Linked DNA regions of Homo sapiens: all the other regions are linked to region 1. Evidence: promoter capture Hi-C in 16 types of primary human blood cells and fetal thymus (Javierre and others, 2016). All regions are on one chromosome and are shown on one strand. Each heading gives the region's core, a stretch centred on a gene start or on the middle of the fragment in contact. The rest is flanking DNA. Distances are from core to core; before and after follow the strand shown.

Evidence for each region. Contacts are between HindIII fragments. The CHiCAGO score rates a contact against its expected background, and 5 or more counts as called.
Region 2: a contact is called between a fragment that was not itself captured here and the fragment with the promoter of PAQR3 in region 1, in 4 of 17 cell types (M0 macrophages, monocytes, M2 macrophages and 1 more). The highest score is 6.2, in M0 macrophages.
Region 3: a fragment that was not itself captured here is called in contact with the fragment with the promoter of PAQR3 in region 1 in 2 of 17 cell types (monocytes and naive CD8 T cells); the score reaches 6.8 in monocytes.
Region 4: a fragment that was not itself captured here is called in contact with the fragment with the promoter of PAQR3 in region 1 in 1 of 17 cell types (monocytes); the score reaches 6.7 in monocytes.
Region 5: a fragment that was not itself captured here is called in contact with the fragment with the promoter of PAQR3 in region 1 in 1 of 17 cell types (total CD8 T cells); the score reaches 5.7 in total CD8 T cells.
Region 6: a contact is called between a fragment that was not itself captured here and the fragment with the promoter of PAQR3 in region 1, in 2 of 17 cell types (monocytes and M2 macrophages). The highest score is 9.9, in monocytes.
Region 7: a contact is called between the fragment with the promoter of CNOT6L here and the fragment with the promoter of PAQR3 in region 1, in 4 of 17 cell types (naive B cells, fetal thymus, monocytes and 1 more). The highest score is 8.2, in naive B cells.

Annotation. Positions count from the first base shown.
Region 1 is chr4:78,937,801-78,941,049 of GRCh38, reverse strand. PAQR3 (progestin and adipoQ receptor family member 3) reads left to right here and starts at 1,612. Exons shown (of 6, transcript NM_001040202.2): 1 at 1,612-2,010. The coding sequence starts at 1,826. RefSeq lists silencers at 1,433-1,922, 2,013-2,082. The HindIII fragment of the contact is 16,646 bases long and covers 1-3,249 here.
Region 2 is chr4:80,149,829-80,153,077 of GRCh38, reverse strand. No RefSeq gene overlaps it. Among named protein-coding and RNA genes, the nearest start is that of PRDM8-AS1, 46 kb to the left of the region's middle. The HindIII fragment of the contact is 1,064 bases long and covers 942-2,005 here.
Region 3 is chr4:80,129,133-80,132,381 of GRCh38, reverse strand. No RefSeq gene overlaps it. Among named protein-coding and RNA genes, the nearest start is that of ANTXR2, 58 kb to the right of the region's middle. The HindIII fragment of the contact is 6,253 bases long and covers 1-3,249 here.
Region 4 is chr4:80,110,841-80,114,089 of GRCh38, reverse strand. No RefSeq gene overlaps it. Among named protein-coding and RNA genes, the nearest start is that of ANTXR2, 39 kb to the right of the region's middle. The HindIII fragment of the contact is 4,380 bases long and covers 1-3,249 here.
Region 5 is chr4:80,088,272-80,091,520 of GRCh38, reverse strand. No RefSeq gene overlaps it. Among named protein-coding and RNA genes, the nearest start is that of ANTXR2, 17 kb to the right of the region's middle. The HindIII fragment of the contact is 3,097 bases long and covers 1-3,060 here.
Region 6 is chr4:80,059,253-80,062,501 of GRCh38, reverse strand. The region is part of intron 3 of ANTXR2 (ANTXR cell adhesion molecule 2); the gene reads left to right. Among named protein-coding and RNA genes, the nearest start is that of ANTXR2, 12 kb to the left of the region's middle. The HindIII fragment of the contact is 6,040 bases long and covers 1-3,249 here.
Region 7 is chr4:77,817,923-77,821,171 of GRCh38, reverse strand. CNOT6L (CCR4-NOT transcription complex subunit 6 like) reads left to right here and starts at 1,804. Exons shown (of 12, transcript NM_144571.3): 1 at 1,804-1,868. The coding sequence starts at 1,864. RefSeq lists silencers at 758-907, 1,168-1,327, 1,368-1,467, 1,958-2,027, 2,108-2,507. The HindIII fragment of the contact is 6,822 bases long and covers 1-3,249 here.

The sequences.
Region 1 (3,249 bases), core at 363-2,862:
GACTCTGTCTTCCCCCAACAACAACAACAACAAAAAATCTAGTAAGGTTACTTTCTGACTGTCCCTGCCTTTCCGTGGTCACAAAGGAGTTCTGACTTACCTCACCTGAAACTAGGTCATAAAACCCTCATTCTAGAGAGTTCCTGCCCCATACTCTGAGGCCAAGAATTTGAATGAACTGGCCTTGCTAGCTAGGATCCCCCCTCAGTTTATTATCATTAGATGATGCCCCCTTTCAATCATGTTTCTCCACAACTATCCACTCCTTTCATCAGACTTAGCATAAAAAGCCCATTTTTTCCTGGGTCTTTGTGTCTTCATTTCTGAAGACTCCTCTGTCACATAAAACTGTGTTAAATGAATTTATTATCCCTTTTCTTGTTAATTTTTATTATTTATTTTTTGAGACAAAGTCTCGCTTTGTCACCCAGACTGGAGTGCAGTGGCACAAACATGGCTCACTGCAGCCTCGACCTCCCAGGCTCAAGCAACCCTCTCACTTCAGCCCAGAATAGTTTGGGACTACAGGCGCCCATCACCACACCCGACTAATTTTTGTTTTTTGTTTGTTTGGTTGGTTTTTTTTGTAGCGACAGCGTCTCACTATGTTACCCAGGCTGGTCTCCAACTCCTGGGCATAAGCAATCCGCCTGCCTCGGCCTTCCAAAATGTTGGGATTACAGGCATGAGCCACCTGCGCCTGGCTTCTCTTAATTTTTTTCATAGGAATGTCAGCTGTGAACCTTGTGATAAGTGAGGACAAGATATTTTTCTTGCCCTTACAATGCCAAACAATGGACTAAGCGTTCTATTATACACATACGGTACTCAAACTGATGTTTTGCCCTGTTGCCATTATAAGTAAACACTTGCATTACAGTAAATAGCCAGAAACAAAGCTGCAACACTTCCTGTAAACGCTACTATAGCCGCACTCCACAGGATTTTTTAATATGTTCTATATTATTCAGTTAAGTAGATATTCTCATTTCCATTGTGATTTCTTCATCAGCCCTTGAAATATTTGGTGTATTGCTCCTATTCCAGACGTGGAGACTTTTAGTTTTCTTGTTACTCTAGTTTAATTCTACTGTGATCAGAGAACATAACGCTGAAAGGGGTCGGAGTTTTGAATGCACGGGGGCTTTCCTTTATGGCTCAGGATGTGCTCGATGCTGGTGTATGTTCCACGTGCATCAGGTTTCCTCTCTTTCCAATTATCGTGCTAAGAGCTGACTTCAGCTTAGAAATCCTCAAAGTCCCTTCTGACACTAAGTGTGTGTAATTCCAAGCATAAACTAAACGGTAATTACCTCGAACTTTTCTTCCTGTTAACTCTTTTCCTCTTGATTTTTCAAAATGCAGCAACTATTACTTCTAATAAAAAAACAGAAAAAGAAAAAAAATCCACTTGTATTCGCCTGTAGCTCTGTGCTTTCGGCTCTTCTCATATGCAAACGAAGACCCCAGGCGCCGCCAAAACACAGCGTGAGAGACGCCCGGGAGCCCGGGCCGCCGCCAGCGCACGCTCGAGCACACCCGGGCGCGCCCCAGCACCCTGCCCCTCCCAGCTAGGGCTGAGGGGCGGGGCCGCCGCGGCGCGCTGACGTCAGAGGAGGCTGCGACGCTGCCGGGTCCGCCGCGGCGCTGGCGGCAGTGGCCGGTGTGAGCGCAGAGCCGGGCCCTGGGCAGCAGCGGCAGCGCGGTAGGACCTCGCGCAGCGTCCGCGGGCTCCGGGGCGGGGGCGCCAGCGGCGAAGCCCCCTCCCCGGGGAGGCGGGACCTGGGGGAGCTCCCGAGCCGGGGAGCGGCGGCGGCCGGGAACGATGCATCAGAAGCTGCTGAAGAGCGCGCATTACATCGAGCTGGGCAGCTACCAGTACTGGCCGGTCCTGGTGCCCCGTGGCATCCGCCTGTACACCTACGAGCAGATCCCCGGGTCCCTCAAGGACAACCCGTACATCACCGACGGCTACCGGGCCTACCTGCCGTCCAGGCTGTGTATCAAAAGGTACGGTCTGGCTGCCTCCGCCTGGAGTGCCCCCTTCTCTCACCTACACCCTTTTTGTCTGGTCCCCCTTCTGCTTTCCCCGCCTTTCTGCTTGCCCATCATTTCCTCGCCGCCCCATCCTTTTCATCCCTTTTTGCCGCCTCTCCTCCCCCGTTATCTCCCCTTACCTGGCCGGGGTACTTGGTCCACGGAATAATCATGATAGTAACAGTGATCATAATTACAGCTCTCCTATGACGCTTTGCTCTTTACAAAGGGCTTTTACATCCTTTATTCGGTTTGTTCGGCTCATTGAGATATATATTGAAATGGGGCTGAGCCATATTTGCCCGGTGTATACCTTTCTTTTTAGAGCAACACTGTGGGAATTCAGTAGCTTTGGGCCAGATAAGTGCCTGTATAATAGGAAACAAGTTAACATATACACCCGAGATTTATTCATTTGGCAAATACTTATGGAGCCCATGCAGAAAAAAAAGCAAACATGGCCCTTGTTTTCATGAAGCTACTAAGGTGTAGCCTGGGTAACAGACATTAAATAGATAATTACACAATTACATAATAACCATTGTGGAAAAAATGCTGTGTAGGAAAAGTACTGTGGTAAAGAGAGCTCATAACGGGCACCCAGTCTCCACTAGAGCACCACAGAAGCATCTCTAAGAAAGAAATTTCTTTATCATTTTAAACCTTTAAAACCACAGTCCCTTGAAAATCCGTGTTTTAAAAAAACAAAACTGAAAAATAACTATTCTAGTTCTTGGAGTAACTGTCCAAACTTACTACCTGTACTAAAATACAGGACCTCTGCTTCAGGAGAATTAAGATACAGGTGTTGGTTAGCTCCAGGTCGCTGTAGTGGCAAACCCTAGTGCCAGAATGTGGGCTGTTGAATTGCTCAAGCGGCAACCACATGTCTGATTCTTGATTTTTCCAGCATTGTCTTTTCCTGCCCTTCTTTCCTTTTGTCCTGCCATGAAAGTGTTTCTGTGACTCATGGTCACAAGGTGACATCACTGCCCATCCCTACTTGGCTTGAATGGATGGCCCTTAGGATTCACAACTTGAAGCGTAATTACCGTTTTCCTCCCCAGTGCCTCCTGTGCATGAGTAAATTACACAGCTGAGTTCTGCTGTGGATCTGGAGTTCCACAAGAATAGGGCAAGCAGTGAATTGCCTTAAATATTTTCTACTCAACTAGCAGTGGTCTTCTGCGTTCTGATGTTAGGGTCCAAATC
Region 2 (3,249 bases), core at 224-2,723, 1.2 Mb before region 1:
TAAATCCACACATAAAATAGGAAAAAATCGTGTCTCTGAATTCTAGGCAAGACAAAAGGAAGTTACAATTGAGTTTCATCACAGGTGGAATACTTCCAAATGCTGCCTGGAAAAAATAATAAGTAATAATAAGTGAAGAATACTTTTCTCCCAGGTATAGTAGATAGGAAAAAACCTGCAGAGAATTAGCAATTACTGAGAAATCATGATGACAACTTAGGGACTATTGACAATTAAAATTTTTCATCTTCAGACAGAGAACATGGCTGGATTAGAGGGGAAAGCATTCTCAAATTCAGCAGAAACAGTAACAAATTGCTGTCCTGATTTTATTTATAAACCCATGTCGTTTTAGATTATCTGTTCTAATTGCAAAATCTTTCAGTAAGAAAAAAAAGTAATAGTTGCGAGAAAAGCTTTCAAAATAGCTTATCTCTGATCATTAGAAAGAAACAAAGTAATACAGACATACTCCAGAGAGTGGTATCATCCACCATTGATGGTAACAATTCTCAAGTGAGACTGGGTCATGATACAGCTTAAATTTTTGGTAAAGAAGACAGACTTCAAAATAGGTACAAGCTGCTCTCATGAACTAATAAATACATTTTTGAAAATTCAGAAAGAATAGAAAAAAGTGCTTCAGAATAAAGTAGGGGTCTCAAGAACAGCAGAGAACCCAAGACAGACGCAATAATCAATAGATTAATTAATCAACAAATCAATTCAGTACCCTAGAACCAGCTTCTATAGGAGGCACTGAGGATAGAATAAAAACATAACACAGATTCAACTCTCAAGAAGCTTGTAATCTAGTAGAAGAGGAAGAAAAGACCGAAATACTATGCAAGACTCATTTGAATCATGGTATGAGAAAAAGAGTGATTCGTTCTACTGGACTTGGTCAGAAGAGGCTTCACAGAGGGACACATATCTAAGCTTGATCTTGAGAGATAAATAGGAGCCTTTTGTTTTGGAGAGTAAGGGAAAACATTTCAATTAGAAGAAACAGCATTTAGCAGACTTAGAAGATCTGAAAGAGTCATGTCGGAAAGACTAGGACACAGAAAAACAGAACTTATGGAAACAGTGGGCTACAGCAAAAATGAACTTGGCCGATGAACTGAAAAAATAGAGATTTTGGAGACTGGGAAGTGCAGTATTACTAATTTAACAGCAAGAAAATTATTGTTCAATCAACAACAGGTTATCATATATTTCTAATTTCCCCCACCTCCTTATCCCTTCATCCTATTCACCTCCTGATGACCACCTCACTAAATGTTTCTGTAGCTAGTCTCCATGGCACTGTAGCACGGCTAAACCAGCTGAGGGTTTATAAGCAACTAGCACAAGTTATTGTGCATGATGACTCCAGGAGTTATACCAGGGACGTTTCTTGGATGCCCCAAAGTTGTTGGGTCACAGCCCTTACTCCAGCCTAGTTTTGCCCATGCTTGAAATGGCCAAAGGGAGTGAATTTTCTGGTGAATTCTGATGAAGAGCAAAATACAAAGAAGGGCAATGGTATCGTCGCTCATTCATATGCAAAGAGAGAAATACATTGCGTAAACATTTTGTTTATCAACTAGAATACAAAATTATTAATATTTTATTTTAAACCACATTTTCTTTTTATTGTGACTGTATCTTTTCTTGTGAATCATCTTCTGAACACACTTAGAGTTGATGATGGGAAGTAAATTTTAAATGCAAGTAAGTTCTGTGGTGAGGAGGTAGGATCTCAGCATTATTCCATCAACATGATGCATTTTCTAAGTAAATGTTTACCATTATAATGGCACATACATAAAAGCTCACGTACAAATGTTGCCAATAAGGACTTAAGAAAGCATTTCTATATATCCATTCTATAAAATAAATATAAAATATTTTATGGAATACTTATAAATACATATTTCCACAACATACTTTAGAAAAGAACCAAACCCCTTTATGACAAATCTGCCAACAGAATAAACAATCTTGACTACAATGCAAAGCTTGCCAAGTCCTGTCAGAAAGCTCTTGTGCCTCAGTGTAATTCTTGAATAGTGAAGAACCACTAAAATAACCCTTTCACTCAGACTCCTGTGATTCCCTGCAGGGAGCTTTCACTGCAGTTGTCACTGTGCAAAAGCAATCAAATTTAACATATAGATACAGGGAGAGAAGGCGTGTGAGAGCATATGTGTGTGTGCTCTCACATATGTGTGTATGTATGTATATAGAAGGACAGCTGATGTCTCTGATCTAATAAAATATATATGAATAATTGGCAAAGGGGTCTGTAGGACTTCAATGTCTTTAGTTTTTCACCCAGTGGACTTCAAATTTTATTAGAGCTAATGGAGATTTTCATTGAGTTTATGTTCATGGATTTTTAAGTCCATATACTCAGCAGGACAAAATTATCATATAGAACAGTATTTCTCAAATGGTAGGTTGTGATTGATTAGGAGGTTATAAAATCTATTTAAAAAGTTGTGATCAGCATTTTAAAGATTGAAGTAAAATAGAATAGAAAACTACAGAAAAGTAGTATAGTATATAGTAAATGTAATATTTTTGTGAAATTTTAGTGGGTATATGAATATGTGTGTTTGTAAGTGTGCATGTATATGTTTTTATTGGGCCATGGTCTCCACTTTAAAATGTGAATTGTAATAAAAAAAGTTTGAAATTCACTGACATAGAGTTTCTCTTTTAATTCTGTGTTCAGTACAGTATTTTCATCCTGGAAACAATGAACTCCCTGAAGGCAAGTATTGGATGTATTTCATCTTTATACCCTCCACAGCCCCTGAAGTGCCATGCACTTAGTGGAAGATCACTAAAGAATTATCAAACAAATGTTGAGAACTTCAGCTGGTTGTATTTAAAAGGATAATAAAGATAATAGTTTGCATTGATACAGCACTTCATACTTTTCAGAGTGCTTTCCCATCAATGATCTCATTGATAATTCAGAACTATTCTGTTGGAAGGAAGCACATGGACTGTTGCATTAATAAATTTAATTATCTCCTAAGTGTGCTTCATATTTCAGTGGTACACAATAAGACATTCTTTAAGTAGACCTTAACATTTATGTCTAGAGAGCATCCAGGTTTTATGGGACCTGAAGCTTATAGAATTTTGGAGACCTTCATTAAGAACAAACACTCAAAATTAGGAATAGAAATGTAGGCAGAATAGTAAATATTTATTTACAAGGAGAAAGTAAATTATAAAAACTAAATAAATGGA
Region 3 (3,249 bases), core at 267-2,766, 1.2 Mb before region 1:
TTTTCTTGTTGCCATTATGACAAATTACCATAAATTTAGTGCTTTTAAACAACTGGTATTAATTATCTTACAGTCCTGAAAGTCAGAAGTACAAAATTAATCTTAGGGCTTGCTCCTTATGGAGGCTCTGAGGAGAGAATCCATTTTCTTGTCTTTTTAAGTTTCTAATGGCTACCTGCATGTCTTGGCTCACGATCACTACAGCATGTTGCTTCTGTCTTCACATTTCCTACTCTCTCTTTAATCTCCGAACTCCTTCTTTTGGGGAAGAATCCCTGTGATTACCTTAAGCCTGCCAAGATAATCCAGGACATTCCCTTATCTCAAGATCCTTAACTTAAATCACATCTACAAAGTCCCTTTTGGCACATAAGGTAATAGTCACAGGTTCTGCGGATTAGGATGTGGATATATTAGTGGGCCATTTTTCAGCCTACTACAGGCTCTAACTTTCTAATTGAATAGTTTTAATCAGAATACCCATATAGCCAAAACTCTGAGGTACATACAAAGTTTTTGGTATCACCTCCTCAGGCTTAATAGCTACTATTAATTGATGGCTACCATATGCCAAATGCTGTGCTGAGTACTTTGCACATAATCTTAACTCACACAACTATCCTGTCATATGATTTTAAATGTCCCCAGCTTAAGATGAAAAGACTGTGCAGACTTTTGTACAAGGTCACAGCATAACAGAGCTAGGATTGAAACCTGTTGCAGCTTTACATAAAGTCTATACTGTTAACTACTATGATTCATTGCATTTATCTCATTCAGTGTTTCTTATAATTTTTACTTTACTACTTAGTTTACTACTTAGCTTCATTTCATAGAGATGTTTCAACAGCATTTATTTGTAACCTTCTTAGTATGAAGCATTACAGCAGACACTGTCAGTAAAGAAAAAGGAATTGTTGCCAGCAATCCAAATTGGGAGAGTGAACAAGTATAAAAATTACAGTAATTGATATTTAGTGAAAGTACACATAAGAGATAGAAACAGAGTTATGAGACTTCAAAGTAGAGAAATCACATTTAGTTTTATATGGGGATGGTGGAGGAGGAGTATTGCGAATCTATGGGAAGGCAGAGGGTACTCATCAAGAAAGGCCTCACAGAGTACATACAATTATGAGATATTATTTTTAGATTTATTGAATCTAAATTTAGATAAATCTAAATACACTTGAAAAAGGTGTAAACTGCTATTCTTTACTGGGTCCATTTTAGCCATCATAACAACTTGTTTGTGTTCAATACAGTCTAAGTGGTTGGTACACAGTAGTTAGAAAGCTACTAGATTTAATTCTTTATAGCAGAATTATATCTTTAAATATTTCCCTATTTAGGTTGCAGACTATTGCCTTAAGATGAGAAACACAAGAGATCTCAGCAAGACCTAAGTCAAATTCTTGACTATTTCAGTTCTGAAGTAACAATAATTTTGATAATTTTAATAGTAAAAAAACTGCTTACTATATGCCACATACAGTCCTAAACACTATATATATTCCAGACACTGTACTAAGTGCTTAGCTTATTTAATCACAACAACCCTTTGAGACAGAAACTTTATTATGCTCTTTTTTCCAGACGAAGAAACTATACAGGTTGATTTATGTAACGTCAAATAGCTAGTATACATTTACACTGAGATTTGAACCTGGGCATTCTGGCCCTTGAAACCAAGTGCCTAATCATTATATATTACTGACTCTAAGAGTAGACTAAATAGACTATTACTACTCTACACCAGAAACTGTTAGCGGTCGAAAAGCCAGTGCTTTTGATTTACATGAGCCTTCTTGAGAGACAATATATTTTTCCTTAAAATTTCAAGAGGTAGATTTTGAACATCAAGAGGACACAGGATATGTAATTTATCCTGTGCATCATAGAGTTGACAAAAATGCAGGATGATATAGGATCAGGGTCTTTTTTGGTCACTTAAAGGAGATGAAAGTCTGATCAGCTGGTGGCAAAAGAAAAATCTGAGAAGGCCCTACTAGGGCTTTAATGGGTGCCAGAAAAGTTCCTGCTTACTTCCATTGTGTGTAGTGTAAACCTCATAGGGAGGACAAAAGAAAGCCTGGCTAAGTGTATGGGGATCCATAGCAGATGGAGCTTCAGAGGGTGCAGCTCCCAAACTGCAAAGTAAAAGACGTCCCAAGTCCAATATCATGCCTGAGTGACAATGGACCATTACTGAAGGAGGTGTCTGATCATAGGTCCAAAGACAACCTCTCAGAGCCCCCAGGTACTCTAGAAGCAAGGGCTAAATGTAGGCTGGTGTATGACAGGATACACTGTCCAAGCCAGGGCAAGCATCAAGGGACAGAATGGTACCCAAAGCCTGAATGAACAAAACACTCAACTTTGGCCAGTGTGGATGGAGGATGATGTCATACCTTATAGACATTCCAGTTCTGATCCTGGAGACAAAAAGTAAGACTCCTAGAATTTAGATTATCCTTAAGGGGAGGAGAAAGAGGAAAAACATGAAACAGAGTTTTAAACCAAAACAGATTCAGATATATCTGAAAGGGACTGAGCCACCTTGAATTAGCAAAGTTAACTTTTCAATTAGAACAAACTTGAGAAATAAGTAAATAATTTATAGAAAAACAATAAAAAGTGCATTTTAGAAAATCTTACTTTCGTTGCCTGAGCTTCACACTTCTTCTAGGGAGAGAAGAAAAAAAAAACGTTAACACAGTTACTAGGCTTGAAAAAGGCTATCTTGCTATAAACATTCTTTCCTCAAGATTTTAGACGTTTTGTTCATAGGTCAGGAAATTTAGCCCTAAGATATTTCAAGAGGTTAATCTTAGAGAATAAGTCTTCTCAAGATCATTGAGAAGATTATAAGAGGTTATATGTGTGAAAAGTTAGTGGAAAGTACTACGTGTAAAACACCATTGTTTTCATTTTTTAATTGGCAAAGGCATGATTAGTGGCAAAAACAGGGTCTGTAAACTGTATTTCATTTCTTTTACTATAATATCATAAACATTGTCTTCCATTTCCTCGAGACCAATTTTCCTTTTCTGCTCCAACTACTATAAAATGATAGTATCAGATAACAGTGAAAAGGAAATAACTCAGGTTCATCAGTCTTCAGTTCACACAAAACAAGGCAATATTAGGTGTCTGAGTAGTTGTTAATAGCAGCTTGACTATGTGAGTGTCACTGGGCTGTGAATATTTTCTGAAGTTCATCATGTTGGCAGTTTAATGTGAGATATT
Region 4 (3,249 bases), core at 207-2,706, 1.2 Mb before region 1:
CATCACATGTTGTCACTTATATGTGGGAGCTAAAAAAGTGGATCTCATTAAGATAGAAAGTAGACTTGTGGTTACCAGAGGGTGGGAAGGGTAGCAGGAAGCGGGATGAAGGGAAAAGGAAAGAATATAAATGTATTCTTACATTTAAAGACTGTTTTAAGAGCACCACTGAACTGTACACTTAAAAATGGCAAATATGGTGCATTTTATATGGATGTTTTACCTCAAAAAATTTTAAAATAAAGAAATAATTTGCTGGCCAGTTGTGGTGACTCATGCCTGAAATCCCAACACTTTGGGATGCTGAGATAAGAGAATCACTTGAGGTCAGGAGTTTAAGACCAGCCTGGTCAACATAGCAAAAACCCATCTGTATTTTCTAAAAAATTATAAAATAAAAAAGAAAGAACTTCCCGCCAAGACCCAAGGCGGGTGGCTAGCTGGTAATCTTCAGCTTTTAGCTTCATAAGGATTAGCTTCTGCTTTGAAGAGGTGACTCTAGTCAGTGGCTGAAAAAGGCAGTAGTGTAAGGGATTAGCCATTGCTATCCAATGTGAGACCCTTGCAATGTACAATCTTTGCTCCAGGTCTTTTGGCTGGTCTGGCAGGGAATGTGTCTTCAGCATCATCGTCTGAAGCTCTCTCTTGCTCAGTCTTGTTTTCTCAGCTTTCCTGTTCAGGCGTTGCCCCTCAAAAACAATCCACACTCCTAATTCCATCTCAGAATCTGGTTTCCAGAGAACCCAAACCAACAGACTTCACCTAGATTTGTGGGGGAAGAGGAAATGGAAGTCAACTCTGAAGAATTGATGTTTAAGAATTAGCCAGGTTATGGGTGGGGGAAAGAACACTCCAGGAAGAATTGGATATTATGTTTAAAGACCTCAAGGAAGGAAAGAGTGGGAAGAACGCTGATATGCCTGGAGCATAAAACATGAGGGGAGAATAACCCAAGATGGCTGGGGGTGTGGGCAGGGGCCATCATGCTAAGAATCTGGATTTCATCCTAAGGGCAGTAGAAAGCCACTAAAAGCGCTTCCCTGTAGACAGGGAAGTATCATTATCAGGTTTGTGGTTTTATAATATCAGTTTAGCTGCTATGTAAAATGTGCGTTAAAGAATGCCAAGAGTGGAAAAGGAGAAACTAGATAGAAAACCATTTAATTTTCCAAGGGAGAGATAATAGTGGCTTGGACCATGATGGAGTGGCTGCGAGGATGGAGAAAAGTGAACCTATTCAATACACGCTTTGGAAATAGGCTTTTCTGAGTACTTCACCATCCTTGGACTTGTAACAGGTTATTTGTCTTCATTTTGTCTAAGTCTAAAAGACTTGGGAAGAAATTTTCCCAATGAAGTAATTCTAAAATACCTCATTTTATTTATAAATCATTAAAAAATATGATTGTCGTAGAGCTTTAAACTTTTTTTATTTTTTTTAGATTCTTTGTTTCCAGAGAATCTAACACAGCTGGCTATAGTTAGGTTTATTTATTTACTTTCATTTTAATTTTTTTTAGAGAGAGAGACTCCATCTGTGGTCCAGGCTGGAGTGTGGTGGCCCAATCATGGCTCACAGTAAGCTCAAACTTCTGGGCTCAAGGGATCCTCCCACCTCAGCCTCCTGAGAGTAGCTAGGACTACAGGCGTGCGACCACGCCTAATTTTTTTTTCTTTTTGGTAGAGATGAATTTTTGTCATGTTGCCCAGAGTGATGTCAAACTCCTGGCCTTAAGAAATATTCCAGCCTTGGCCTTCCAAAGTGCTAGGATTACAGGCATGTGAAGTTAGATTTGGTTTAAAATTTTACCCTTTTGTATTAAATTAAATTAATTAATTAATTTAAAGACTTTTTAGAGCAGTTTTAGATTCATAGCAAAATTGAAAGGAAGGTACAGAGAGTTTTCATGTATATCCTGCCTCCACACATCCATAGCCTTCCCCGCTATCAACATCCCCCACCAGAGTAGTATATTTGTTACATTTCATGAACGCACATTGGCACATCATTATTCCCTACAGTTTACATTTAGATTCATACTTGTTGTAGTAAGTTGTACGGGTTTGGACAAATGTGTAATGACATGTATCTACCGTTATAGTGTCATGCAGAATATTCTCACTGCCTTACAGGTCCTCTGTGCTCTGCCTATTCATCCTTCCTAACCCCTGGAAACCACTGATCTTTTTACTGTCTCCATAGTTTTTCCTTTCCCAAAATGTCATATAGTTGGAATCATACAGTAAGCAGACTTTTTAGATTGGCTTCTTTCACTTAGTAATATGCATTTAAGTTTCCTCCATATCTTTTCATGACTTGATAGTTCAATTCTTTTTGAGTGCTCGGTAGAATTCCATTCGCTTGGTGTACCACAATTTATTTGGCAGTTTTCCTATTGAAGGACATCTTGGTTGCTTCCAAGTTTTGACAATTATATATAAAGCTGCTGTAACCATCTCTTACAGGTTTTTGTGTAAGTATAAGTTTTCAACTGCTTTGGGAAAATACCAAGAAGTGTGATTGCTGGGTTGTATGGTAAGAGCATGTTAGTTTTGTAAGAAACTGCCTGTCTTCCACAGTGGTTACAACATTTTGCATTCCCCCCAGCAATGAAGTAGAATTCCTGTTTCTCCACATTCTTGCCAGCATTTGGTAGTGTCAGTGTTCTGGATTTTGGTCATTCTAATAGATGCATAATGGTATCTCACAGTTGTTTTTATTTGGATTTTTCTGATGAGATGATGTGGAGTGGATGTTCCTTCACATGTTTATTTGCCATCTATATGTCTTCTTTGGTGAGGTGTCTGTTCAAGCCTTTGGTTCATTCTGTAATTGAGTGATCTCTTATTGTTGATTTTTAAGAGTTCTTTATATATTTTGGATAACAGTCTTTTATCAGATTTGCCTTTCGCAAATTCCAGTTTCTGGCTTTTCTTTTTATACTCTCGACAGTGTCTTTCACAGAGCAGAAATTATTTTATTCTACTGAAGTCCAGCTTCTCAATTCTTTCTTTTACGCATTATGCCTTTGGTGTTGTATCTAAAATGTCATCACCAAACCAAAGATCATCTAGATTTTCTCCTATGTTATCTTCAATAAATTTTATAGTTTTGTGTTCTACAATTAGGTCTATAATCTATTTTGAGTGAATTTTTGTGAGGGGTATAAGATCTGTGTCGAGATTCATTTTTTTTTTTTGCATGTGAGTATTCAGTTGTTCCAGCACTTTTTGTTGAAAATATTTTAT
Region 5 (3,249 bases), core at 263-2,762, 1.2 Mb before region 1:
ATGTCAATGTACTTTATGTCCTACAAGTTACTTGTGTAAAAATATTACCAGTTACAAGGGATGATACACATCTTAAGTCTGCATCAGGGAAAAGATAAATTATTTGTTTGATCTCATGAGTTTGGTATTGTGTTATGATACCATCTAACATGAATGCAGTTTAAAATTCTATGTGAAGTCCTCTGTTTTGACTGTTAATTCAGGGTGGAAAACCATTTCGATAGAAGTGTCAAGGAAATGATGAATGGTGAAAATATCAAGTTGGTTAGCTAATAGTTTTGACTGCCACATGATTCTTCTCGTACTATATCATGTATGAGCAAAAAAGGCATTAATTCAAAGATCAGAAATTCAATGAGTTTTAAACTGCTCACTTCAAGGTACATTGAATTTATCTGCAATAGACTCTACATATTGATGCTTGGGTCTACTTGGCTCCTTGAGTTTATATTTAATATTTGTACCACAAACGAGAAATCATTAATGAACACCTTTAAAATACAAATTTTCAAGGTCAGAATTTCGAAAACAACAGCTGGTTGGTTGGACCATGCATTGCATTTTATTTCTCTATATTATTTCATTAGATTATCAATCAAAAAGTTTACTATAATTTCAAAATAATTATTATAGTCATTTTCAGCCTTTTCTTAGTCTAATTGTGGTTAACATGAGAGCAAAATCTTTTGGACAGAGAGGAGATGGGAATATGATCAGCATAAGCAATACGGATATTGTACTGTATGGAACTGAGACATCCCAAAAAACTAGCTTGTAAGTAGCATTTTTGGAAAGTAAATCTTGTTCTCCCAGTCATACTCTTCATAAACCAAGGGCCCTTCTTGTGAAAGACATCTTTTGAGGAATTTTCCCAGCATATCATCTCCAGGAAATGTCCTCTCAGTGTCAGGTGTGGGGTCTTGCATTAGACTCCAGTCTCATCCACAAGTCCTTTATGACCCCCTCTGTAGTTTCCATGGGACCCTTTTAGCTTAGTAATATGTTTCCTTTAGTATTTATCTAGTTCACATTGGCATCTGTTACTAAAATCAAATTTCTTTCTTTCTTGTGGGTAAACCCTATGGATTGAATTGAAAACTTTGGTTTAGAAGTGGCAGGCTCATTATCTACTGTCATGACCTTGTGGGACACTGTTCCAACAGTGAGATTCCCCCAGGGCTCTTCTGTCTCAACCTTCCCATCCACTGTCTCATGTACAACCACCGCCCAGTCTCTGCTGCTTTTCCAGGCACAGCTGACCTTCAGACTACACACACTTCTCTGAGGCATGGAAATTCCCTTGCCTTCCCACCCTCAGTGTCATTCTTGTGATTCTGCTTTTAAATGTACAATTTTTGGATCCTTCCAGGTTTTCATATTTCACTGAGCACAAAATAAAAAGCAATACAATAATAGTAAATTTTACATGTTTAAAAAATAATTTTAAGTGCTTTCAGCTCTTCCTCATCTTTCACCTCTAATTTGTCTTGCCACAGCAACCTGATGATTCTTCTAAAAGAACAGCTCTGCTCAAACCCCTCTGCCATTTAAATTTATTACTGTATCTATTTTGTCTACACAAAAATGTTTGCACACTAAAACGTTTTTAGCTAAGGTAGACTTTGGTAAACTTTTAAAATTAAAGGCCACATAGTAAATATTTTAGGCTTGTGGGCCACATGGTCTCTGCCTCAACTATCTAGCTCTGCTACTGTAGCACAAAAGTGGTCACAGACCGTATATGAACAAATGGGCATGGCTATGTCCAATAAACATTTTTTTTTCTTTCAAAAACAGATAGCAGGCAGCATTGACCTACAGGCTCCTACAGATTGGGCCTTACCCAGGTCTGTCAGTTTTATTTTCTATTTCACCCTTCACATACTCAGGGCTCCACTGAAATTCAGGTTCTTTTTGTGTTCATTAGGTACTCTGTACATTCACTGCTCTATGCTTCTGTTCCCTGGGATGCGGCTGGGGGAGGATATAGGAAGACTGGTGTTTCTCCAAGTATAGTTTACATAAGAGGTGTCTTTACATTAACTTTAAGGTAATATGTTGTCATGCTGCTTGTTAAGTGTATGATGGCGATATACAGGAAAAAGCATAATAAAATACATGATTAAAACAATAGTAAGACTTTGATACAGGTAATACTATGAGAGAGGTGAGAAGGTAATTAAAGGGGTGCACCTTTTTAAAAAAATATGGGTGCCTTTTTCCCTATCTCAAGTAATGATGTCAGCCTTTCAACTCCCATCCTCAGCTAGAAACTGGTTATGCTTTTTCTTTCTAGGGTGTTTTCTTCCCTTCACCTGTGATAATCTTAAAAACATGACCCATCCTTCAAGATGCACATTAAATTCCCTGTCCTTCATAAACCCTTATTTCTCCAAGTGTAAGTGGTTTCTCCCTCTTCAGAATTCGTATTGCATTCCATCACATCATTTCAGTCTTTGTATTATGGTTATTTTTAAATGTAGCTTAGCTCAGTAACTAGAAGATCCAACTAGGATATCTCACTTGCTAGACTTTGCATATTCCAAAAAGCACAGATCAGTGCTTTGCAGAGAGCAGGCATTAAATGATTAATAAATTTTTAAAATTTGTAAAAATGAGTTTCTTCAAATTAAAGACACTTTTGTTTGATGAAGAAGTGTTAACTCTGTATAAAGATCAGGGTCAAAAGCAAACCCCTGATTTACTAATCTTTAAAAAATATCCTCAGGCACTTGTGGTCCAGTATTGTTGAACTTGCGTTGGTATTTTTGCCAGCCAAATTTGCTACATATGAAACCCATTGGCCATTTGGGGATTGACAACTTTCCTACTGCTCCTTGCAAAGAACTTCCCAAGAAAACTGGGATAGATAATCTATGTGCCATATGTGCTGTTAAAATAAAGTTGGATATGCACTAATCAAGTGGTTTCCATGAGAAACACAAGGCCTCCAAAATATAAAAAATCTTTTTAATTGTAGTACTTATGGTAGTCACTCCAAAGAGCAAAATTACATTTCAAACTTTTTTATCTTAAAAAAGGAGTTAAATATCTAAAGCTTAAATATCTTGGAGCAGACAAACTGTGACTGTTAAAAATGTTATATAAACAAGTTAGAAATAAGCAAAAAAAGTTTTCTCTCTTTTATGCTGCCTACAAAGTCTTTAAATTAGTGCTTAGACTAAAGGAGATTTTTTTTTTCTTTTTGAAAGTGATGAAGACATAGTTGCAGGGTGTTGCCATGGTTTG
Region 6 (3,249 bases), core at 285-2,784, 1.1 Mb before region 1:
AGCAGTCACTTTCGCTGAAGTCCCACATCTGTTTTATGAGCATGTTCTAGAAAATTAAGTACATTGTTACTCATGCCTGGGAGACAGACCTGGCACACGGAAGTGGTAAAATGCAGGGGTTGATTTTTCATGATTTAGTAAGGCAGTGAGTGGGAAAATGGAGTAAAAGTATGCAAAACGCAGCAGGCCTGAACTTCAGGTGTGAATTGAGTACCACATTTTGGTAGGTGCAGGCCAAATTGGAGAATATTTTTGACAAAATTCAGATTGTACAGGGTATTTTGTGAGCAGATATTTCTGGATCTATGACTGCTACCTTGGATTTGCTGGTCTGGACTCTGGACCACAGAAGCCTTGGCCTATGTTGGCATTAGAATGACATGTTAAATAAACAATAAGCATATTTTACATAGACTATAGTAAGATACAGCTAAAACCCATTAGTTCCCAAGATTTTAGAATGTATTAGCAATAGCAATGTGTGTCTTTAGAAAAAATCTTTCACTCATTTGAAACCTTTAAACAATTTTTAAATTGAGGAACTTGGTGAGAACAAATTACTTGTTAGAGGTTCATCCGTTAAGCAGTATGTAGGGCAGTAGTATATAGTAACACAGTTAAGTAGAGCAGGTATATATGAATGAACATATTTCTCTTCATACAGTTTTTTTCTATTTTTCTTACTCAGGTTAATTTTGTGGTTTATTAATGGAAGGAGACAATAAAAGTATCAAAGTTTACTGAGCAGTTACTATATATTACATATTTTACTAAATTCTTCATATGCAATAGCTCAGGTAAAGTACAATTCTAAGTGAATTCTAAGTGAATTATAAATCATTAGCAATTTTGTATAGTCATAAATAACATCTTGAGAACATTTTCGTTTCATATTCTACTCAATCTATTAAATTTTACCCTAAAAGAAACATTTCAGGATGCTGTGTAATTGGCTAATTATCATAAAATCCTTATGTATTGCTACATTTTGTTTTGGAATTACTGTTTATTTCAAGCAGATTAAGTCTGTGGCTAATAATCTATTGAGAGTAAAGAAAATAATTTACTTATGATATAAATACCTATAGTATTCCTGCAATTATATAAATTGGCATTTGACAACATGAGTGTGTGAGGCTTTTTGTTTTAGTGGTAGATTATTTCTTTGGTGGCTTCCAATGAAGCATAGAATACACACACACACACACACACACACAGAGGCACACACACACTTTTTACTTTTTAAAATCTGGGTCTAGGCCTACGATTTATTTACTTCAGTCAATAGAATGCAGCAGACATGAACATGAAACTGCCAGTTTGAGTTCCAGGCCTAAGATTTATTAAGGCATGGTAGTTTCCTCTATTGTTTTCTTGGAAACCATCTGTCATATGAAAACTTTGACTACTCTGAGACCACCATGCTAGGAAGAAGCCCAACCTAGCCATGTGGAGGAGAATCGAGACTCTGGTTAACAGTCTTAGCTGAACTCCTAGGCAACAGCCAGTATCAGCGCTGGCACCGACTTGCTAACCATGTGAAGGCATTCCGCTTCTAGCCATTCCAGTGGCTCAACTGGCAGCATGTGAAGCATGAGAACTGCTCATTCAATGCACAGTGCCATGAGAAACAATCAATTTTGCTGATAACCACTAATTTTGGGGTACACTAGACTCCCCTTATCTGAAGGAGATCTGTTCCAAGAACCCCAGTTGATGACTGAAACAACAGGTAGTGCCAAACCCTATATATACTATTTTTTTCTATACATACATACCTATGATAAAACTTAATTTATAATTTAGGCACAGTAAGAGATTAACAACCATAACTAATAACAAAATAGGACATTTATAATAATATACTGTAATGAATCCTTACAGTGGCCCCATGGGGGAGATATTTATATTCCTATTTTATAAATGAAGAAACAAGGTTGAGCTTGGAACTAATCTCTATTCTGTCTATAAGCTCATGCACATCTTCATCCATACCATCCCAGAAACTATTTATGGTTTAAGAGATTATCCTATTTACCCAAAACTCTCATACAGAAGCAATGACTGGCAAAATAGGTAATTCAAAACGCATTCCAATAACACAAGAAAGTTTTAAAATTAGGTTAGATCAGAGGTTCTTAATCCTGGCAGCGCATTAGAATACTCTGGGGAGTTTTCAAAGGCCAGTGATAACCCTGACCCAACACAAACATGTGAATTAGAATCTCTTCAAATAGAGTCCAGAAGAGCTTTTGAAAATCCCCTCAAATGATTCCAGTGTACAGCCAGGGTGGAGAACCACAGTGCATATATAGAGCTTTATGTGAGTGACCCCTGGACTGAGTGTGAGGAATTCTCACATCACTGTGTAGAATCACGGTGTTCACATACAACAGATGCTCAACAGATGAGTGTAGACTCATTGACTGAAATCCTGAAAGAGCTTTGAAATCTGGAAAGTTAAGACAATGTGCATTGGAAAGTTCAAGTACTGTACAGACACATCGTAGAAAGAAAAAGTAGGAGATACTGAAAATAAAATTATGCCTTCATTGTTAGTTGGTCAATTCAGGATTCCCTGCAGACTGTTTTATGACACCATGATTTCAGTCTATCTTTATTTTAGTTATAATGCCTTGCATACCTTCCACATCCAAAGTGTTTCAGAGAAAAGCTACTGATATGGCACAGTGCATGGCAGTTGTGGTGGCTATTTTCCCTTCCCTTCCTCACTCCTCTCCTCTTCTCCCCTCTCCTTCCCTTCCCTGCCCTTCTCAGCAAAGAAATTAGGGAGATACAAATAGAGCTGAAAGTGCTAATTTCATACATTAAAAAATTAGCCAAGCCTGGGCATAGTGGCTGAAGTCTGTAATTCCAGCACTTTGTAAAGTCAAGATGAGAGGCTTGCCTGAGGCCAGGAGTTCAAGACCATCCTGAGCAGTATAGTGAGACCACATCTCTATAGAAAATTTAAAAGTAGCCTGGTATAATGGTATATGCCTGTAGTCTCAGCTACTTGGGAGACTGAGGTGGGAGGGTTGCATGAGTCCAGGGGTTTGAAGTTGCAGTGAGCTATGATTGTGCCAGTGCACTCCAGCCTGGGTGACAGAGTGAAACTCTGTCTCCAATATATATGAAGCCTCTAAATGAAAGCGAGGAAAACACCATATATATATATATGGTGTTTGTGTGCCTCCTCTCTTTCTCTTTTTCCCTCCAGTTGATAATGGAATTTGGTCCCCCAATTCT
Region 7 (3,249 bases), core at 555-3,054, 1.1 Mb after region 1:
AAGATGAATTGCAACCAACGCAACGTGCTTAGTGTGCTAAACACTCCTGTGGGGGAAAAAATACTGAACATTGCTAATATACCCTTGACCAACACTGGTAAATACACGAGCCCGGGCATGCATTGAGAAAGAGATTAAAATTGTGCAAAACTGCAACAGCAGTACTCTGCCTCCACAGCCGGTGTAATTTGCTTTTTGGACTGCTGGCCCAAAAAAGCTGAAGCTGGCCCACAAAAACAAAAACAAACCCCAGAAACTTAAAGTATCACAGCCAGGTTCACCAAGTAAACACTACTATTTCTAGTTTGCATTTGGATGTTTTCATTCTGTAGATGGCATGGATAAGCTACAAACAACAAACTAAAGTCTACAACGAGAAGGGAGAATTAGAAAATAGGACCGGGTTATCGCTGAGCGTCACAGGTTCTTTTATTTACCTTTGACGATACAACTTACAGATGCTATATGTTTTTAAAAAAAATCCACCGAATATGTCAGGAAACATTTCCTTCGGTCACTTCACCTCCCCTGGCGTCTCAGCCACCTAGACCTACGCTCTGCTTCGCTGTCAGGTCGCCTCGGGCGAGGAGGGTGCAGTAAACAGCGCCCACACAAGAACCCGGGGTGAGGCGGTTTCCCGTCTCTTCGCCAAGGCTCTGTGGATGTGGGTTTCTGAAACTCTACCACTCTTCTCAGCCCCGCTCCTCGCTCAGGCCAGGAAAAAAGAGTGAGAAAACAGCCAGAGCAAAACAGAAAACCATTAAGAAGCCCGGGCCTCCGCGCGCTCACCGCGACAAAACGCGGCGCACGGGGGGCGGGGCCAAGGCGCTGCGTAGGAGCTCCGCCCCGTCACCGCCCCGCCTCCTTCCCCTCACCCCAACCCTCCGCGCCGGGGAGTGACTGACTCCCGCCAGCCCCTCCACGTCAATCAACCCTCCTCGTTCTCGCACTCTCTGCACCTTGTTATTAATCTCAATACCGATATCGCCCGGACGCCTCTCCCCCGGCCCTCGGGGGTGTGAACGTGTGTGAGCGGGAGCGAAGGCACCGAAAGCTGGCGTCTCTGTTCAACCTCGGCCCCAGCAGCACCCGGCGCAGCGGCAACCCCCGCAGCGGCGGCAGCCCCAGCACCAGGAGGCCAAGGCCAAGGCCAGGCTCTGCGTGGCTCTCGGAGCAGTAGCCGCGGCTCCGGCCCTGCGGGGGCGCAGCTTCCTTCGGCTGGGGCCTTCGCGCCGGCGGCCGCGGCCGCGGGGCCTCTCTTGCGCGCCTGGGGTCACTGTCCTCGAAGCCCGGCGGCGCGGCCCTCGTCCCCCTTCCCGACCCCCGGTCTGTCTCCTCGCTCCCTTCAGCCGCCTTCCGCGCCGCCGCCTCTGCCGTTCGTCAGGCGGCCCGGCCCGGCCCGCCCGCCCCGCATCCCCTCCGGCCGGTGCCTCTCCCCTCCGGCGGGCTGCCTGCATGTCTTTGCTGCCCTCAGCCCCGCCGCCACCGCCGCCGCCGCCTCCCCCGCCGCCGCAGCACCAGCACCAGCCGCCCCGTCGCCGCCGCCGCCGCCGCCGCCCGGACCCCGGCGCGCTGAATGCAGGTGAGGAGGGGGCGCGGGCCCCCCGAGACCCCGGGCCCGGGTTCCCTGCGCGCCCGCCCGCGAGCCCCGGTTACGGGCCCTGTGTGCCGCCGCGGCTTCCCCTCGGGGCGGGCGGGAGCGAGGCCCGCCGTGGGTGTTTGTGTTTGCGTCTGCGTCTGCGGCCGCGGCTCTGGAGGGGAAGCATCTGTGGGGGCCTGGTGCGCGCGCGCGCGCGTGTTTGTGTGTGTGTTTCCCCTGCCGCGGGGAAATGGCTGCTGTTGCTTCTGGGCCAGAGGAAGAGAATGAGGTAGAGTGTTCTTTTGCCTCCGAGTAGGACCGAGAGTGTTGGGAAGAGGAGCGCGTCCCCGGGGAAATGAGGTGGGAGAGGGACAAATGTGCGTGTGGGTGTGCGAGTTGGGACTTTGGCGGGCGGGGAGGCGGCCCGAGGACCCACGGCGAGTGGGTGTGTGTCGGGTGACTGGAGGGGGCGGCGGGGCTGACCCGCGTCTCTTCAGAGGCGGGCGAAGGTTCCGGGGTGTGTGTGTGTGTGTGTGTGTGTGTCGGGGGTGGCCCGGGGCCGGGACCCCAGAGTGGCGTGTCCCTCCCGCTTTGTGGCTGCGGCTCCCGAGCCTCGCAGGTGAGAGCTGCTCCTAGGGGGCCGGCCGGGGAGGGCTGAGTGAGTGCGGCACACGCGCGGCAGCGGGGCTGGGAGAGCTGCTGGTCGGTGCCGCGCCGCTGATCCCGGGGCCGCCGTTCCCCGGCCGCGGCAGGAAGCGCGCCGGCCTGCAGCGCGGCCTAACTGCCTGGGCGCCCGCCCACCTCCCCGGACGCCTCCCGGGACGGCGAGCCCGCGCGAGCCCACGGCGCTGCCTCGGGCCTGGGCAGGTGAGGGTCGGAGGCGGGACTCGCCGATTGCCGTCGCCGTGGCCGCCTCCGCGTCTCCTGAGAGGCGAAGGCTTATTTTGGCGTTCCAACTGCAAGCCTTCGCCCGGCCGGCTGTGGGACCCGAGGGAGGAAAGTGAATCAGAACAGTCAGTCTTGGGAATACGCGGTGTCGTGTTCCCTTCTTTTCATCCTTCCCCTAAGGCTGTGTGGAGGGACTGAGTAAATATTTTGGATTTTTGTTGCAAATACTTTGCCGTTGGTAAGATTTTTTTTTTTTTAATTAGACAAACATTTTCTTGGAAGGGCTGAGGAAGAAAGGGAAACTGGCTTTCCTGGCCTGTGGGATTGGATGGATTTTGTGCATTTGAAATTGTTTTATCCTGCCTCCTAGGGGGAGAGGCGTGTACGCGCCGCCGAGCTGAGGAGCTGGGTGAGGAAGAGGAAGTTACTGGAGCTGTCATCCTGCTTAACTCGGTCGGCTATTGAGCTTAGACTGTTTAGGTGGATTGTGTTCAGGGAGTTTAGCTGAGCCGTTTGTACACATTGGAAGCACAGTGTTACATTTTACCGTATTGCCTCTAGTTATCTTGTCAATCAAGATAGGCTCAACAAACATGTTTTCCTCAGTCTCCAAAAACTAGATCAAGCAACCTCTGTTGTCTACTCAGTATGTGCTGCTGGAAAGCTATTTTGAGAATAGCCTAAGCAAAACCCAGTTGTAAAGATAAACCTGCTGCCAATAGGTCTACAGTACATTTCAGAACCAAATACAAATGGCATTTGGATAATTATTTGCTAATGTG